Linked DNA regions of Homo sapiens: regions 2 and 3 are each linked to region 1. The links are contacts of gene promoters, found by promoter capture Hi-C in blood cells and fetal thymus (Javierre and others, 2016). All regions are on one chromosome and are shown on one strand. Each heading gives the region's core, a stretch centred on a gene start or on the middle of the fragment in contact. The rest is flanking DNA. Distances are from core to core; before and after follow the strand shown. Region 1 holds the start of RNGTT (RNA guanylyltransferase and 5'-phosphatase). Region 2 overlaps ZNF292 (zinc finger protein 292). Region 3 overlaps BACH2 (BACH transcriptional regulator 2).

Region 1 (4,039 bases), core at 1,088-3,587:
GAAAAGGAGGGGCCAGGCTCCTCCCCACTGCAAATGGCGCAAATTTCCCAAGGCTCCACCACAGGGTGCATTCCTCCCAGTGCTCAGGTCAAAAGGAGATTCTGCCAAGGAATCCTTCCCACCTGGCTGTCTTACCAGCACTTTGGGAGGCTGAGGTGGGAGGGCTGCTTGCAGGAGTTCCAGACGAAAAAAGTATAAAAAAGTTAGTGGGGTGTGGGGGCCTGCACCTGTAGTCCCAGCTCCTTGGGGGCTGAGGTGAGAGGATTGCTTGAGCTTGGGAGGTTGAGGCTCCAGTAAGGCTGCCCTGATCATGCCCACTGCACTCTAGCCTGGGTGAGAAAGTGAGACCCTGTCTGCAAAAACAAAAGATTTATCTACATATCAAAGTGAAGAGGAAGGATTAATAAATATAGGTTTTTCTCAAGGAAAAGTCCTAGGAAAAGGGAAGACAGATAAGATCTCTCTCTTTTGCCAAAAGAGAACGTTCAATCTTATTTTTTACATGTACACACTCTTCCTTATGGGCAAAATGGATGTTTGATGAAAGACTCACCAATGAAGAGAATCTACATCTGATAAAGAGGAGATCAAGACATATCTGGGAGGGTGTCAGGGGTTCCAGGAAGCGGGGGAGGAATCATGTTGGTCTGTCTGTGAGCATCTATTTTTCTTCTCACAGAGTAGTAGAAACTTGGGACTAGGAGCAATATAGGCAGAAACACACATCAGGCAAGGCATTCCTGACAGGCAGAGAGAAACTGCCTGCTCATCGGGATGCCACTCTCCTACTCTACTCTCTATTGTGGACAAAAGGTAGCCACAGGGTCCTCCCAATTCTGTGGCAATGAGTATGGAGAGGGCATAACTGGATAGCAGAATAAAAATCCAGTGCACATTGCTGCCTTACAGCCAATAACAGTTGCTCGCCAGTGGTATGAAGCTTCTGTGTGCCTAGGACTGAGCTACTGGGTATAGCGTGTGTGGGAAGGGGAGTCACCAAGGGGAGTCATCCCCAGAAGGGGAAGGTAAGATACTCTTCCAGGATCAGGCTCACCTTTCCCATCCTTGGAGGGGGTCTGGGGATGGAAGGTTTTTACCACTTTGGGCATGGTACACACTCTATCAGCAGAAAAGGGAATTCATCGGAGATTATTTGGGTAGACTGATGGCCTTAAAGGAAACTGGGTATTATCTTGTTCTGTCAGGGGAGGAGTTTACACCTTCACTAACAGTTCTGAGCAGATGCAACAGCAGGACAGACCAGAAGTGTGACCTAACTCAGGCTGCCTCAGAGAGATTGCTGTTGGACTGCCTCTATTGATGGGACTCTTACTGAGGGGGTCCAGGCATTCAGGGGGTTGAGCGTCCCAGAAAGTTCCCCACCGACGCTTTAAAAATGTATTCCCTGCAGCCTTACGTTCTTGCAGTTCCAATATAGCATTGGTGTTTAAAGCCAAACTACATTATAATTGATTCGCCATCATCCAGCTTTATATTTAACACTTTAATCTGGTAACAAAGGAAAGGCTCGTTAAAGGACGGCATTTATAAAAATTTTTCAAGCACCTCTGCTTAACTCGAAGGGAAAATAAAAGGCACTGTTTATTTGGTAGGCCAAGGAGAACAACGCCACGAAGAGGTTCTCCACTGATCAATTCCTACCTTTGTCAATTATACCACATTAATTAGTAACTTTTTTTGGAGACATGGACCCTCTCAAACTCCCCAGTATGCTTTGAAACTTTGATCCAGAAATGTACAAACAAAACTCTAAGTGTTCTGGAATTAATTTCAGAAGCTTCATAGATCCTCGTAAGTACTCACCAAAAGAAAAATTCCCCATTTCTGGTACTCCAATCTCATGTCCTTAGAATTCTCCTAAGACTTGTTCCCTTGAACAACTTTCCCTAATTGCAAATCAAACCTAGATCCGGCTGGGACGCCAAGCTTGAGCTGTGGTAACGCTCAGAAGGCCTCTTTTCATCAGTAAAATAGATGCCTTAACGGAAGTGGCGGGCAATCTACGCATGGAAAGGCGCTTGGCTTCCCTCTTTTTTGGGTTTCTCTAGGTTGTCTGGATGGGAAAAAAATACACGCTTCGTCCTGCGGAGTTCGGTACGAGGGCAATTGCACATGCGCAAAGGCGAACCAGTAGCGTCCGGGCGCGTCCGTGGAGCGGGACGGGGCGGGGCGGGGCGGTGCCGAGTGGGGCGAGAGAAGGCCCGCTCCTCCCATTCGTCGCGTCCTTAACTCTTTGCTATCCTTCCGCTGAGCTTCCTCTTCTTTCCCTCTGACCTCGGAAAGGGGGCGGGGCTTTCGGGGGCGGAAGTTGCGGTGCATTGTGGGTTCTCCTGGAGCTGTGGAGTTGATCCTGAATGAAAGTGGCGCGCCGCCCCTGACGTTACCCGGATCGGAGAGGTTGGAATTCAGATTACGGCTGCGATTCGGGTGTCTCGGACCCCGGTGTGCACCGGACCACGGGGAGGCGGCTCCAAAGGCGCGGTGAACGTTGGTGAGGGAGGGCAGCTCTGCGCAGCCCCAAGACATGGCTCACAACAAGATCCCGCCGCGGTGGCTGAACTGTCCCCGGCGCGGCCAGCCGGTGGCAGGTAACCTGGACTGGGGGGCGTTCGAATCCCCACACTCCAACGTGCCCGGGGGTGGGCCGACTGAGGAGCTCAGCTTTTGGTGGTTCTGTGCCCATTAGTGGTATTTCAGGAGCGGGATATGCTCCGTCGGATTACGCTTCGTGGATGAATGGGAACATGAACGGGAGGGGATGGTCGGCGGATGGGGGGCACTTGTTACTATTCCTGCAAGGCTAACTGTGCGAATGTGAAGGTAGACAGGAGGTTGGTGGCAGGAGGTGAGGATCCAGGAATACAGTGGGCGTACTTTGAGTCTTAGTAGTTTGCGAACCTGTTAGGGTTCAACCTTCCCCTCGAAAGAAGGGATGAATATCAGTATTGAGATGGAGGAGGGTTAAGGAGGGAAGGGGCGGTTCCCAGCGGTGAAATGGGGTCACATTGAGACTGGGAATCTGGAGGGTGTTTTTGTTAGTTTTTTATTTTTATTTTCTTGTGAGACAGGGTCTCTTGCTCGGGCTGGGGATCCTCCCACCTCAGCCTCCCAAGTAGCTGGGACTACATGCTCCTGCCACCGCACCCGGCTAATTTTTTTATTTATTAAAGTATATATATATTTATAATGTATATATTTGAGACATAGTCTCTCTCTGTCGTCCAGGCTGGAGTGCAGTGGCGTGATCTCGGCTCACTGCCTCAGCCTCCCAAGTAGCTGGGATTACAGGCGCGTGCCACCACACCCGGCTAATTTTTGTTTTTAGTAGAGACAGGGTTTCATCGTGTTGACCAGGCTGGTCTCCAACGCCTGGCCTCAAGTGATCCGCCCGCCTCGGCCTCCCAAAGTGCTGGGATTACAGCCGTGAGCCACTGTGCCTGGCCATAATTTTTTTGTTTATTTTTTGTGGAGACAGGGTTTCACTGTGTTGCCCAGGCTGGTCTTGAACTCGTGGACTCAAGCGATGCTCCCACTTCGGCCTCCCAAAGTGTTGGGATTATAGGCGAGAGCCACCCCGCTTGGCCGGGTTTTTGTTTTTTTTAATTATTTTTCTTGTAGTTTTTTTCATCTTTATTGAGCTTGAATACAATAAGCTTTAAAGCGTACAGTTTGATAAATTTTGACTGTATATACACAAATATATCTCTTTCCTAGGAAACAACCATGAAACCCCTCAAAGTTTCCTCTTGCCCCTTTTTAAATCCCTCCTTCGCCTGGCAGCCACTGATCTGCTTTCTGTAATTATAGATTGGTTTGCATTTTCTAGAAATTTTTAAATAAATGGAAACATATAGTGAGTACTCTTCTTGGGGTGGAAGGAAGTGTGTGTGGCTTTTTTCACTCAGCATAATTAATTTGATACTCATCCAGATTATGCATGTATCAATAGTTTATTCCTTTTTTATTGCAGAGTAGTAGTTTATTGTTCTGGGTATACCACAATTTGTTTACCTGTTCA
Region 2 (4,039 bases), core at 1,013-3,512, 1.8 Mb after region 1:
TGACTTCATGATCTGCCCGCCTCGGCCTCCCAAAGTGCTAGGATTACAGGCGTGAGCCACCGCGCCCAGCCCTATGTATGTAACTGAATTTTAACAAATCTTCTTAGCTGAACATATATACTTAGAGACTTTAGTCTTTCTTTTTTTAATGTAAGTCAAGGGGGAAAAGGTAACATTTTTCTTTTGAGATACATTGTGCAACTGCCAATGCCAAAAGAAAAACAATGAATCAGGAGGCTCTCCTGGAAAATAATACATTGTTAAAAGTCACAGTGTATGTATGCTGACAAACATATTAATGAAAGCAAACTTTCCATTTTACAACTATAAGAGCATACTCACACTGATTGGTTAATTTTATAAACTGAATTTATCTGTAGGAGTTGGGAAAAATAATGTAACCTCTCACCTTTGACAGAATCTCAAGAAAATAAGTAGAGCAGCAGTTTTATAGTTAAAAACCTATGAAAATCCTGTTTGGCAGGTTAGTAAATGTTATGAAGTACAGCTGCAGAATAAATCTTCTCTTCCCTCATTTTAATTTAGGTCCAAAAAGGATAAGAAGGGGGCAAGCAAAGCTTAGTTTTGCTGAAATTGATATAAGCATACTCTGCAAAGTAGAATTTATTATCTCTAACATGCAATCATACTAATTATGAACATTTAAAAAATTATTTCCCATGAGCACTATCTAAACTTCTAAAAGTTTAAATGACTTATTGCTCCCTCAATACCTAAAGTAATTATCACTAATTAACAAGCAAGCTGTCTTTTCTTCTGATTTAAAGTGTCCTACAAATTAAGATAGCCTCTAATAGTCAAAAAGAAAGTCTAATTTTTAAGGAAAATGCTTAGTTTCAAAGATCTTGCAGTTATAATGTAACATGTATATAAACAAAAGAATCAACTTGTATCAAACTGATGAGACATAAAATATACAAAGAAATGTCCTAAATATGTAATCTAAACATTCTGTAGCTCTAACAGTTTTAATTTGGTTTTTATTTCTTATACCAATCAGGCACCAATAATGGCTAACAAAGGTAATGAAGACTAGCTCAAATAGTACCTCCTCAGGAAAGCCTTCCCTGATACCCCAGCCTGAAGTGCTTACTACCTACTTTGAACTCTTTAAGTTGCTATACATAAAATTAACTTACTCTCCTAAATATCCACTGATAATGAACTGATTAATTAGACCCAGCCATAGACTAGAATTACTATATACTATAATAGGGAAAGCCAAAAACTTACATGAGCAGCTATGGAATGAGCTAGAAGATGCTTTTGGGGGGAGGGAAAGCAAGATACAGTGTAGTTATCTTTATTTTCTTAAAAAGAGCAAACTAGTTCTGGAAACCATTAGGGGATTTGTCTTTGTGGAAATGAGACTGGAACTCTAGAATGGGAAAAAGATCAAGTTTTCATTGTATGCCCTTTCTCAGGGTGAATTTTAAAAAACCATTTCAATTAGTACATTTTCAATTTAAAACAAAACAAAACAAACAACAAAAAAGCAAAACCAGGCTGGGTGCAGTGGCTCACGCCTATAGTCCCAGCACTTTGGGAGACCAAGGTGGGAGGACTGCTTGAGCACAGGAGTTTGAGACCAACCTGGGCAATGTAGGGAGATCTTGTCTCCACAAAAAATTTTAAAGTTAGGCATGTTGATGTGCACCTGTGGTCCCAGCTACTCAGGCTGAGGCAAGAGGATCGCTTAAGCCCAGTTGGTCAAGGATGCAGTGAGCCGTGACTGTGTCACTGCACTCCCACCTGGGTGACAGAGTGGAGACCCTGTCTCAAAAAAATAAAAATAAAGCAAAACAATTTGTTAGTTAATACACTGCCTTTTGACATCTTTTCAGCTGTCATTTTGAAGTGATATTTAAATATTATCTTACTAATTTATATCCCACTAGTTGCCCGTATCTTTTATCTCCTATAACATCTAAACCTAGGTCCTTGCATATAAATGCTTTCTTAAAAGTACAGAATTTATTATATCAAAATGTCAAATCTTTTCTTTAATCAGGATAATTATGCTGAATTTGCTACCCTCTTTAACCTAGCAAAAGTTGTTTTACTAACTGTTTATGCAATTGCTTGTAATTTCTGCTAAGAAAGTAGAAAGTTTCTTGACCTCTCATGGTCAGTATAAATTATACTTAAATATTGTTGAATATCATTTACCTGGACCTGTTCCAAATAAAGTATATTTCTGGAGCTTAACTATCTCAATATGAAAAGAGTAGAAGGACTAAAAAAAAAAATCTTCTAGATATACTATTTTTCTTTCTGTTCAATGTTTCTGAAAAGGGTACTTAGAGGAATTACGCTTTCATTTGTTGGGACGGTCCTGATCACTTCAGAAAACTTAGCATTGAAGCTCATGGGCACTAAATGCCAGTACCACATCCCTAGTCATAGCAACATCCAAAAACCTGATCCCACATATTTCTAAGTGCCATCAAAGAGAGAACTGGAGGTAGGGAAAGTACTATGCCCAGTTGAGAAGCCCTGCTTATATGAACTAAGAAAATTATATATATATATATACACACACACATCATATATATGTATATATACACACACACACACCGTATACATGTATGTATACACACACACATCGTATATATGTATATATACACACAAACATATTTTTTTATTAGAGTCTCCTGTATCTTATATCCTCTGTAACATCTAAACCTAGGTCCTTGCATATATATACACACACACACACACACACACATATATATACAAACACATGTACGTATGTATACACATACACACACGACTGTAATTCAACCCTTCAAAACAACTGTCAGCCACCAGATCACTACTGATCAATGGTCAATAACAGTTACAATCAACCAGTCGGCCAGTCCAGTATATAGTGCTGTCAGCAAATATCATACTCCAACAAATCAACTATTACAATGGCCAATTTTTCCAACGAACTATTATTTTAAAATCTCTTTAGAACAACTCCTCTGTTGGAATGTTTCTTTTAAAACTCCCAAATAACCTCCCTCTTTACTGTACTCACCTCAGTGATAAAATATATAAATCATAGTTTACTACGATTATCTGTCTACCTTCCTCCAGAGACTATAAACTCTTTGAAGCCAGGGACCATGATCATCCTTGCCTAGCCTGTATACAGTAGATGTTCAATAGAAATGTTGAATGAGTGACTACTGGCCCAGTCTAATACAATTAACTAGTCTAAAAGGTTCCAATTATAACCAATTTTTGTATAATAAATACAGTAATAATCCTAAAACAAGTAAATGCAAGAAATTACTTCTGGTTATTCTATATACTTATTCTAAGTCAATTTTAAGAAAATGAGTTGGTTATATTGCCCATATTAAAGCTAACTTTGAAAAGATACAAGGAAATTTAAGAGCTGGGCATGGTGGTGTATGCCTGAGGTCTCAGCTACTTAGAAGGCTGAGACAGGGCCGGGCGTGGTGGCTCACGCCTGTAATCCCAGCACTTTGGGAGGCCAAGAGGGGCGGAACCAGCCTGACCAACAAGGAGAAACCCTGTCTCTAGTAAAAATACAAAATTAGCCGGGCATGGTGGCACATGCCTGTAATCCCAGCTACTCAGGAGGCTGAGGCAGGAGAATTGCTTGAACCCAAGAGGCGGAGGTTGTGGTGAGCCCAGATTGCGCCATTGCACACCAGCCTGGGTGACAGAGTTAAACTACATCTTTTTTAAAAAAAAAAAAAAAAAAAAAGAAAGAAAAGAAAGCTGAGACAGGAGGATCACTTGAGCCTAAGAGTTTGAGGTTGTAGTGTGCTATGATCATACCTGGGCAATGTAGCAAGACCCCATCTCTCAAAAATAAAATAAAATATATAAAAAAATTTAAAATTTATGACGGGCGCTCTACTATGCCCATCCTCTACTTACTCTTCCCTCCTCCCACTTAAGCTTTAAGCAAATTCTCATTTAAATAAGCAAAGGGGGGGCAGGTGGCTTATTTCCAGAATGAGCAAAACAACACTGTTAATAAGAAAAACATTTAATG
Region 3 (4,039 bases), core at 522-3,021, 1.3 Mb before region 1:
GAAGCTAGGCACGGTTTGCAGCCAGTTCCCCCATCCTCCTTCTGTGCTCACTTTTTTGTTTCATGCTCTCTTACCTTTTGGCCACCCAGTCCCCTCAACTAGTCCTTGTCCTTCCCTTCCAAAACCAATCTCAGAGAAAGATTTTATGAACACAGTTTTACTAATATATAAGTAACTGAGCATACTTAATGTGTTACTTTTCTGAAGCATCAGCATGTTAATAGGAGACAAAGCCAAAGAAGTAAAACCCTAAAGATAAAAACAATAGAATTTCGCACACTGGTAACCTGGTGATAGGAGACCATTTCTGAATGGAGAGAGGGCTCGTGATAAATAAACACAACCCTAGGCAGAGAATATAGGCAAATGGATTACAGTATTTAAATCAAAGTAGTATTAAAATACAAAGAGAAGATTATTTTTAATAATACATTTGTCAGTGAGCATTTCCCGCCTTTTGCCGTACATTGGAGTTGATCACATAAACCTCTATAGCAAGATGGTATGTTATTTAACATTTAAACAAAGCTTCCAGGGAAAGCCATTTGGTTTGTGGTTAGGGATTTTTGTTATTCAGTAGCAATGAACCTGAAATTCTATATTATCTTTGCATGTTGAATTTTAGAAGAAAAAAAAAGCAGCGGATCCAACTTCACTTACCTCCCCACCCCAGTTGCATTGATACAAATTGAATTGATAAATTTATTTCAAAATTGGTGTGTCCCAATTTGACATACCACAAGCATAGTGGTGTCAGCATGGTGGTGACATCTGGACATTAGGAGAGTTGGTTGATTAATTAAACTATACTTATTTTAGATAGAGTTGTTGGCAGGTAAATACCTGGCTGTAGAGTCAACGCCCTTCAGTCCCACCTCTCCCCCACCATACCCTTCTCCAGCAACCATGCTATGTTGAGTTGATGGCTCCATCTAGTGCCAGTCTGTGGAACTGTCTTGCAGGACTTCACTGTCACCTCCAGAGCTGGGTATGATGAAGAGTCCTCTTTCTCTGGGAACACACTGTCTAGCGGGGAACTGCCCTCTAGTTCCTACCTCTCCTTTGTTTTTGCAGTTTAGTTATACCTCCGTGTCTTTCTTTGTTCCAGACTTAATTTGTTTCCCTCTCTCTAGTACCCCCTCTTTGTACTTGTTTCTCCTCCTTTTTTGTTTTCCAAGTCTCAATTTTTTTTTTGGAGAACAAAACAGTACTTAAAACCGGTAAGTATAAAGATTTTTTTTCTAACAATACTTTATGCCAAAGTAAGAGAATTCTATGCATTTTAAATGAAACTATCAATTGAAACCATGTTAGAGAACCAGAATGACCCTAAAGTTGAAGTCTGAAAGTGTCACTTGGAAGACTGTGTCCCTTCATCCTCCTGTAGTTAGACATTTCCTCAAACACAGTTAATCAAGAGTATTTTCTTTTAAATGGTTTTGGAACTATCATTGTAGTATCATTTTCTTTTTAGATTATAAATTTAACCTCTCATATTTTAAGTTCAAGACATTTTCACGGACTATCAAGGAATCCTAGCTCATTGGCCTGGCCCTATTTCTGTGGGAAAATGTATTCTCAGTTCCAGACAACCAGTGTTCCTGCAGATTTTTAGGTCCCGTATAAAACGAGAGAACATAGATGAATGAGAGGCATTGTCAGACAAAGCCTGGCACATGAGATCTCAATTAGCATACAGGTTTTAAATTTCCCACATTAAACAGTACATTTTAAATTTCCACTTATGTTAAGCGTGTTGATATTGTGGGTTTGAAAGTAAGTCCCCTCTGAAAAACAGGAACTGTGCTTGTCTGTTACCAGTTCTTGTGGTCGATATGGTAACTATTTTGATTTTTCAGAAGGGAGGAAAAGCAGTTAAATCTAGTTAAAATTAAAACCAGTTAAAATTAACTGGCTCGTGAGATTTCAGTGCAGCTGTTCCACACATAGCAACACTAAGAGTGAGTTGTTTATTACCATGATTAATTATTATTAGTTGTTACTTCTTTTTGAGCAGTGGCATAGATTATTTATATTTTTGGTCTAACCTTGGAAAATAGAAACTGCAAGCGTAGAGAGGTTCCCGTTTGCTAATTTGCATGTACCCTGTTTTTGTTTTTGCCAGGTAGGTGTGTGCATCTCAAGTACACGAGAGTAATTTAGCATGTCAGCACTTTCCTACCAGCAGTGCTTGCTGACTCATGCAGCTGTTGTAGCACTCAGCTGGCCGCACTGTAAACTGCCCATAGTACCAGCACCGCCCTTGGAGAGCTCCGGGCTGCTGGGCTGGTTAGCTACTGGGAGGCTATTTTCAGATCTGTGGTCACTGCTGAGCTGGGTCCTCTTCTCCTGCCAGCAGCCAGACACAGCCTTCTGGTTGCAGGGGAGAAAATTGGACAAATTTCTACCTTTGTAGGGACTGCATAAAGATTCATAGCATTTCTGGATATGCCTCAGGAAAACTTTTTTTTTGCTTCACTTTATTTTTCTGGGAATATTTAAGGGGAGAGGCAAAAGGGGCTGATAATAAATGAAAAGGGAATGTGCTGTTATTTCCTACTAAGATCAGAAAGAGTTTTCATAAACCTTTAACTTAGTTAGGCTTTCTTGGCGTAACTGAAACCTGACCCACTTCTCCCTCAGTGCAAAGCAGTGTGTCCTGAGTAGGGAAGCAGGGGCGAGGGTGCAAGTGACTAGCCTGACATTGTTTTATGTGGCTGAAGTCCCTAAGTGATGACAGCTTTTGTTTATATCCGTTCCCTGTTATTGAGGTTAAAAAACAAAACAAAAAACTTGACCTCAGGTCATTTTAAAGCTAGCATGTATTTTCAGAGATGGTTTCACTGTTTGTTTTCAGAGTTCAGTTTTGCTTATTTTCATCGGAAAGTGTGAAATGTTGCTTTTCTGAGGCTTCTAAATAAACTTCCTTTTGTAGATACAAGTTGATCCAATCATCATAAACTGTCTTGAAAAAGGATGATTAAAGTAAGATCAGCTGGGGAAGGGAAAGCTTTGCACACCCTTGAGGAGTTTGCCTTCTTTTTCTTAAGTTTCAATAAGCATTCTGAAGCAGCTTTGACCAGTAATAAAGAAAAGCCACAGTGACTGTGTGTAACATGATGTTGATGGAAGTTCTTGGTTTCCGCCGATACGAATGACTCATCAGTATCAATAGAATTGTGACTTCTAATAATAACACAGTGCAAGACCTTCAAAACATGTGGTTTTAGCCCTTGCTCTTAGTGAAAGGTTGGAAAATGTTAGTTTGAGCTTTTTTTTTTTAATCTCTTGATTTTGCCCAAGTATAAAGTTGTTTTTTGTAGGAATGATGATCCCCCTGTTGTTTTCTCATCTTACTGTTTTTAGTTTCATTATGATTAAGGAGCCAAACTCAGATCATTTCATCGTTTAGAAATCTCTGCGCTAAGCATCTCCTGTCGGGGCTGTGTTTGAGGGAAATGTGGCTGAAAAGCAAATCCTCCCTGAATGCAGAAAGGAAAATACTGGTGCAGACTACAATCCACTGAGCTGCGTCCCTCCTACACAGCATCTATTGCGGAGGGCTGTGGTATTGCTAAGTAGCCCCATAACCCTGTGAGTCATTGTCAAAGGATTCCAAGAGGAAGGTTAACAGAAAATGCGAGTCAGAGGAAACAGCAGAGTGGAGCAGCTAGCTCAGGAAGAACTGTGCTACCTGCTGAGGGGCTGCCCAGATGTCACCAGGAATTCAGGTGTACGTTCATCTTTTTGCAGCCCATTTCCGTATGTCTACATATGGGGACATTTTTGTTTTTTGTTTAGTTTTGGTTGGTTTTGCTGCAGTTTGGCCAGACTATCAGAGATCACTATCTTAGCTTCGTATCACAGTGGTCTTATCCCAGAGCCTTTGCTTTTTGTATTTTATAGTCAAAGCAACTGAATTTCTAGACTGTAAGACCAACATGTATATTTAACATAATTCTTTTCCTTTCTAAGTGCTTTATTTATTTATTTATTTATTTATTTATTTTGAGATGGAGTCTTGTCCTGTCACCCAAGC

Evidence for each region. Contacts are between HindIII fragments. The CHiCAGO score rates a contact against its expected background, and 5 or more counts as called.
Region 2: a fragment that was not itself captured here is called in contact with the fragment with the promoter of RNGTT in region 1 in 1 of 17 cell types (fetal thymus); the score reaches 5.5 in fetal thymus.
Region 3: a fragment that was not itself captured here is called in contact with the fragment with the promoter of RNGTT in region 1 in 1 of 17 cell types (fetal thymus); the score reaches 5.2 in fetal thymus.

What each region holds. Positions count from the first base shown.
Region 1 is chr6:88,961,916-88,965,954 of GRCh38, reverse strand. It overlaps RNGTT (RNA guanylyltransferase and 5'-phosphatase), which reads left to right and starts at 2,337. Exons shown (of 16, transcript NM_003800.5): 1 at 2,337-2,609. The coding sequence starts at 2,546. RefSeq lists a silencer at 2,040-2,274 and enhancers at 2,258-2,637, 2,992-3,918. The HindIII fragment of the contact is 1,727 bases long and covers 1,950-3,676 here.
Region 2 is chr6:87,159,202-87,163,240 of GRCh38, reverse strand. All of the region lies in intron 1 of ZNF292 (zinc finger protein 292), which reads right to left. Among named protein-coding and RNA genes, the nearest start is that of ZNF292, 5.7 kb to the right of the region's middle. The HindIII fragment of the contact is 3,364 bases long and covers 581-3,944 here.
Region 3 is chr6:90,283,978-90,288,016 of GRCh38, reverse strand. The region is part of intron 1 of BACH2 (BACH transcriptional regulator 2); the gene reads left to right. Among named protein-coding and RNA genes, the nearest start is that of BACH2, 11 kb to the left of the region's middle. RefSeq lists an enhancer at 1,971-2,471. The HindIII fragment of the contact is 2,482 bases long and covers 531-3,012 here.